Regions from separate parts of the Homo sapiens genome. Here region 1 is linked to region 2. Evidence: promoter capture Hi-C in 16 types of primary human blood cells and fetal thymus (Javierre and others, 2016). All regions are on one chromosome and are shown on one strand. The core of a region is centred on a gene start or on the middle of the fragment in contact, and the rest is flanking DNA. Distances in the headings are between cores, read along the strand shown.

Region 1 (3,026 bases), core at 527-3,026, 140 kb after region 2:
AGCCTGTATCTGTGCAAGCTTCTAGATCTAACAATCAGCAGATAAAAAAGGGATAGGTGAACATGTTAAGCTCTACCACAGGAATGTAATCAACAAAACCCAGATTTTGAAAAATCTACAGAACAAATGACTAGGTTTAACAAATGACAAGGGGAAATAAAATGCAGGTGGAAGTATGACAGGCTAAAAAAGATTTCAGAGACATATCAAATACAGTATATGAACCTTATTTAGATCCAGACTCAAAAAATGAACTGTATAAAGGCATTTATGAGTCAACTACAGAAATCTAAACCCTGATTGGCTATTTGATGATATTTAACAAGTTTGTTAAAAAAATTGTAGTTATAATAATGAAACTATTGTTATATTTTTAAAAAATAACAGTAGCCAGCTGGGCGCAGTGGCTCACTCCTGTAATCCTGGCACTTTGGGATGCTGAGGCAGGTGGATCACGAGGTCAGGAGATTGAGACCATTCTGGCCAACATGGTGAAACCCCGTCTCTACTAAAAATACAAAAATTAGCCAGGCATGGTGGCATGAGCCTGTAATCTCAGCTACTTGGGAGGCTGAGGCAGGAGAATCGCTTGAACCCAGGAGGCGGAGGTTGCAGTGAGCCAAGATCGCGCCACTGCACTTCAACCTCCAACCTGGCGACAGAGCGAGACTCCGTCTCAAAAAAAAAAAAAAGAAAGAAAAAGCCAGGCACAGTGGTATGTGCCTGTAGTCTCAGCTACTCAGAAGGCTGAGGTGGGCTGATTGCTTGAGCCCAGGAACTCAAGTCCAGCCTAGGCAACATAGAAAAACCCAGTCTCTTAAAAAAAAAAAAAAAAAAAAAAAAAAAAAAAAAAAACTGGCCAGGCCCGGTGGCTCACACCTGTAATCCCAGCACTTTGGGAGGCGGAGTTGGGCAGATCACCTGAGGTCAGGAGTTCAAGACCAGCCTGACCAACATGGAAAAACCCCATCTCTACTAAAAATACAAAATTAGCTGGGCCTGGTGGCACATGCCTGTAATCCCAGCTACTCAGGAGGCTGAGGCAGGAGAATCGCTTGAACCTGGGAGGTGGAGGTTGCAGTAAGCCAAGATCATGTCATTGCACTCCAGCCTGGGCAACAAGAGCAAAACTCCATCTCAAAAAAAAAAAAAAAAAAAAAATCTTACATTTTGTGCCACTGTTCCTGAAGAGAAAGGAAAAAAAACAATATGTCAGGTGTGGTGGCTCATGCCTGTAATCTCAGCACTTTGGGAGGCCAAGGTGAGCATATTATTTGAGGTAAGGAGTTTGAGACCAGCCTGGCCACCAGGGTGAAACCCCATCTCTACTAAAAATACAAAAATTGGTCAGACATCATGGTGCATGCCTGTAGTCCCCGCTACTTAGGAGGCTGAGGGAGGAAAATCACTTGAACCCAAGAGATGGAGGTTGCCGTGAGCCGAGATTGCACCACTGAACTCCAGCCTGGGCCACAGAGTAAGACTCTGTCTCAAAACAAAACAAAACAAAACAGCAAAAGAAAGTAAGAGTCCTTGTCTTCTGGAAACACATACAAAGTTACTCGGCAATGGGGTAATATGATGCCTGGAATTTGCTTTAAAGTAGCTACAGGAAATTGTTATAAGTAAAACAAGATTGGCTATATGTTGATTACTGAAGCTGGGCCATGGGTCATTATTCCGTTCACTCTACTTTGGTATAAATAATAAAAAGCAGGAAAAAATACTTCATTACCTTTCTCAGTAGGAAAGCAGAAAAAGAGAAACTAATTAGAGGAACCATAATTTCAGCTATAACTATAGATAATACTACTGACAAATCTATTTGGTAATATAGCATCTTCTTGATATAACAAACATAACATTTACTTCATTGAAAAACATTGACACAAAGAGATAAAGCCTTGATCACAATGATCATTACAGCATTTATTATCCAAAGCTAGAAACAAAATCAAGGAACAAAATCGACTATGAAAGTCTCACATTCATGAATTTACTAATCACAGATTTGCCTTTTCATTATAAATCAAGGAGGTCCATGACATACATGGTAACTAGTAATTTTGCCAAGGTATAAACTTTAATCATAAGAAATAAATTACCAGTATATAGAGAAGAGTTAGGTACTAATGAGTGAACTTAGCAGAGCAGCTAACAACCATATCTTGAAGCAGTTTGTTGTTCTCTATTTCTTGATTCCATAACCAATTCAAAAATGTTTTCTTGGTAAAAGAAAGCCAACTGCTGATGACAGTAATAGAAATAAAGGAAGGATAAAGAGGTCTGAGGAAGTGACGACTATCAGTTGAAAATTAGAAATTTTAAATTAATTTTCTTGTTTTTGAGACAGAGTCTTACTCTGTCGCCCAGGCTGGAGTGCAGTGGCATGATCTTGGCTCACTGCAACCTCTGCCTCCCAGGTTCAAGTGATTCTCCATCCTCAGCCTCCCAACTAGCTGGGATTATAGGCATGAGCCACTGTGGCCAGCCTTAAATTTATTTGTAAACTAAAATGCTGGTTGGGTGCGGTGGTTCATAATCCCAGCACTTTGGAAGGCTGAGGCAGGAAGATCACTTAAACCCAAGAGTTCAAGACCAACCTGGGCAATATAGTGAGACTCTGTCTCTACAAAAAAAATTTTTTAATTACCCAGGCACGGTGGTACATGCTTGTAGTCCCAGCTACTTCAGAGGCTAAGGTGGGAGGATCACTTGAGCCCAGGAGTTGAAGATCAGCCTGGGCAACATAGTAAGACTCTGTCTATTTAAAAATGAGATAATAACCTGAAGGGATTTCAATATACTTTTACTGTATAAAGAAAAATCGGCCGGGCGCGGTGGCTCACGCCTGTAATCCCAGCACTTTGGGAGGCCGAGGCGGGCGGATCACGAGGTCAGGAGATCGAGACCATCCCGGCTAAAACGGTGAAACCCCGTCTCTACTAAAAATACAAAAAAAATCAGCCGGGCGTAGTGGCGGGCGCCTGTAGTCCCAGCTACTTGGGAGGCTGAGGCAGGAGAAT
Region 2 (3,115 bases), core at 108-2,607:
AGGAGCGAGGAGCGGAGCGGAGGCGTGGGGAGCTGGGCTCCGGGAAGACTGGGGGCTGCCGAGCACCGTCCTTTTCGCAAGGCGGCACAATGCGTCCCTACTCGAGGCCCGAGAGCCTGCGACGCGCTGGTTTTCGTTGCCTTTCCACGTAAAACAAAGTAAAACGCAACGAAAAATCGGGGGAATTGCCAAGCTCAAACAGGAATCGGAGGTTCGAGCGGGCCGCGACACACCTCCCGGAAAGCAGCGCGGGGAGAAGGCGGAGAGGTCACCCAGGGTCCCCGAGCCCGCGCGTCCCCGGGCTCCAGTATATAGTGGCGCTTACGTGGGAGAGGATGGCGGCCGCTTTAGCTGCCGCGATGGCCGGGTTGTCTGAGCTCGTGGGGGTGAAAAATAAACCCCAGTTGACCAGCGCGGGATTTGGGAATCAGACAACTTTGGACACCAGGGATGGGGCCGGAGCCGGAACAGCATCGGGCTCGAGGAGTGCGGATCCTACACCAGGCCGGGGCCGCAGTGGAGCAGCGGTGCTGGGGCCCTCCGACACGGCCGGCGACTCTGCACCACGGGCTCCGACACCCCAAACCCAGTTTTCAGTGGGGCTCCAACAGAGTGCCGTGGCCGAGCCCTGCCCGACGCGGGGACTGGAGAACTGCGCGGCCGCCCGAAACGCTTGGGGCCGAAACCCTGCGGACGCCGAAGCATCCTCCCGGGCCCCATCACCAGGCGCGTCGGCCCAAGGCCCAGGCGGCGACCCCCGGCCTGGCAGGAACTTTTCCGCCTGGAGGCCTGGTCCAGCAAGCGAGAGCCGACGGCGCGGGGCTCCCGGCTGTCGCCCCCCAGTCAGGCAGCAGCGCAACCTCTCCTCACCTACCCGAGCTGGCCGTCTGGCTGGTGTCCAGCGGCCCCGATGCTCTGCCCAATGGCTGCAAGTGGACGCTCTGCGGGTCGGACAGCACTTCCAGGAAGGTGGGCTGCGTGTAGAAGCCAGGGAGCCCCCCGGGCCCCAGAAGCCCCATGCCGCCCACCCCCGCGGGGCTGAGCACTGAGCGCGCCGCCAGCAAGTGCCCGGGGGCCAGGCCGTCGAGCGCTGCCCGCGGGTGGGAGCTCGGGGGCTCCTTGTTCAAGCCCAGGATCTCCTGGATGCCGAACCCAGTGCACCTGGCCGGGGCGCCCCCCGAGGTACTCTTGGCCACTGTCTCGGATTTGGGCTTGCTCAGCGCTTCCCCTGCTTTCCCCGTCATCTCCCTGTTCTTTGGAGGGGCTGAGGCCGCAGGTCTTTAGCTCCCCCCACCCCCCCGCCGGGCTTCCCGCTTCGCGAAGTTGGTCCCAGGTGCCCCCTCCGGTGTCTAATGCTCTGGAGCCCAAGGAGATTCCCCTTTTATCCAACCAGGCGGCAGCCCAAGTGGGGTCAGAGCTGAGCAGCCAATCACCGGGGCCAGGAGCGATTAGGAATTCCAAAAAGCTGGCAGCTCCCGCCGCAGGCAATGTCGAATGGCCAGGGTGCTGGGGGTGGAGCACCGGGTGGGCTCTGCAGGATGCCCATGGGCAGGGACCCCAGGGGCCGAAGTGAGACAACCAGGTTCAGGTTCAGGGCTGTTCCGGGAGGCAGAGTGGCTTGGGGCTCTGGGCAGATTCTGGCAGGGACAGGTCCCTGAGGTCAGGTGGAAGGATGGGCTAAGGGCAGAGGTGAGAGACTGGGAGACCTCCTTCCCTCAACTCCTATGCAGGTTGGCAGCATCAGGGCGGCCTGAATATGGCACCTCTGTGTAAACGGTTGAACAAGGGAGAGGTAAGTGCTGGGGCAGTGTGTGTGGTGGTAAGCTGGGAAAAGATCAGGCCAAGGTGTGCAGAGGGTGATGTAGGGGTAGGGAAAGTTTGCTTCCCCAGCACAAGGTATAATGCCTAGTTCGGAAGAGCTACTCAACACATATTGGCCCAATGAATGAATGATAAATGGGTCAGAAAGAGGGGTCCCTGGTGGGAAAGAGGAACAGTGATGATTACTTTTGGAGAACAACCATGGACATCCAAACCTCTTCCTAGAGTAAGCATGAAGCATGCCCAACTTTCATGGGAGGACTTGATTCTTCCACCCAATTCATTCGACTAATATGTATTGAGCTACTAGCTCCGACCTGGTAGCCAGGGGTTCCGCAGTAAATCAGACAAGGCAAGGGCCCTGCTATACTTCAGAGTTCATTGAGCAAACAGAATGAAGAGGAAGGGATTGTTGATGTGGAGGGAGAGGAAGGAGGAAGCGGGTGAGAGGAAATTAAAAGGTAAGCTGCTTTCCCCTGCACTCCACCACCTCAGCTAACTCTTCTGTGACCTTCTTGGGGCTGGGAACTATCTTATCGACCTTGAGGCTCCCTTCTTCACTGCGCCTAGCATATGGTCAGTTCATGGTAGGTTCCTTGAATTGAAGGCACCCTATGGGGAGATAAGGACTAGGTCCATTGCTTTAAGCAGAGATTGGAAAACCAGGCTGGGAAGATTCCATCCAGGATTTCTTAGCCAGTCAGGTGCAAACCCCCAAATGGAAGGAAACCCCCTAGCCATACCTGGCCTATTGCCAAGGTGTCTGGTACCCTCGTGGCTGCCATGGGGCCAGCCTGAGAGGTAAGAGGAGGCACCTCAGGATGTGGAACCTAGACCTTGCTAGCAGGGCTGTTGTGAGGAGGGTCTCCACTCCCATTGGTTTGGTCCACATAACAGCTGGAATTAGGTAGGGGCATCTCATGGTGCAGGAGATATCTGGGAGAGTGGTGCCTCTGTATCCCATAATAAGGCCGTGCCTACTGTGTGCCTACATCATCCCAGGCCCCTTACATGGTGTCATCTCTGGTGACACAATCTCAAGGCATTCTTCACCTTATATTCTATGGAGGTGGGTCCCAAGTAACACCACTCACGTAGACAACAATGTGAATGGTGCCCTCTGGAGTTGTGCAAAGCAGTAGACTCACCTGCCAGAAAAGAATTTCTGTCCCCATTTAATGGATACACAAACTTATGTTGCCTAAGAGGTTACCTAGCTAGTAAGCATCAGAGGTCAGATGAGTCAGCGCATGAGTCTGATGTCAGAAGCTGTTTTCTTTTGACTCCATCCCTC

What was found. Contacts are between HindIII fragments. The CHiCAGO score rates a contact against its expected background, and 5 or more counts as called.
Region 1: a fragment that was not itself captured here is called in contact with the fragment with the promoter of VSX2 in region 2 in 2 of 17 cell types (M1 macrophages and M0 macrophages); the score reaches 6.8 in M1 macrophages.

The regions. Positions count from the first base shown.
Region 1 is chr14:74,101,563-74,104,588 of GRCh38, reverse strand. All of the region lies in intron 5 of LIN52 (lin-52 DREAM MuvB core complex component), which reads right to left. The region is part of intron 1 of LOC105370563 (a long non-coding RNA gene); the gene reads left to right. Among named protein-coding and RNA genes, the nearest start is that of LIN52, 18 kb to the right of the region's middle. The HindIII fragment of the contact is 3,512 bases long and covers 21-3,026 here.
Region 2 is chr14:74,237,691-74,240,805 of GRCh38, reverse strand. VSX2 (visual system homeobox 2) reads right to left here and starts at 1,357. Exons shown (of 5, transcript NM_182894.3): 1 at 875-1,357. The coding sequence starts at 1,244. RefSeq lists an enhancer at 1-6. The HindIII fragment of the contact is 12,282 bases long and covers 1-3,115 here.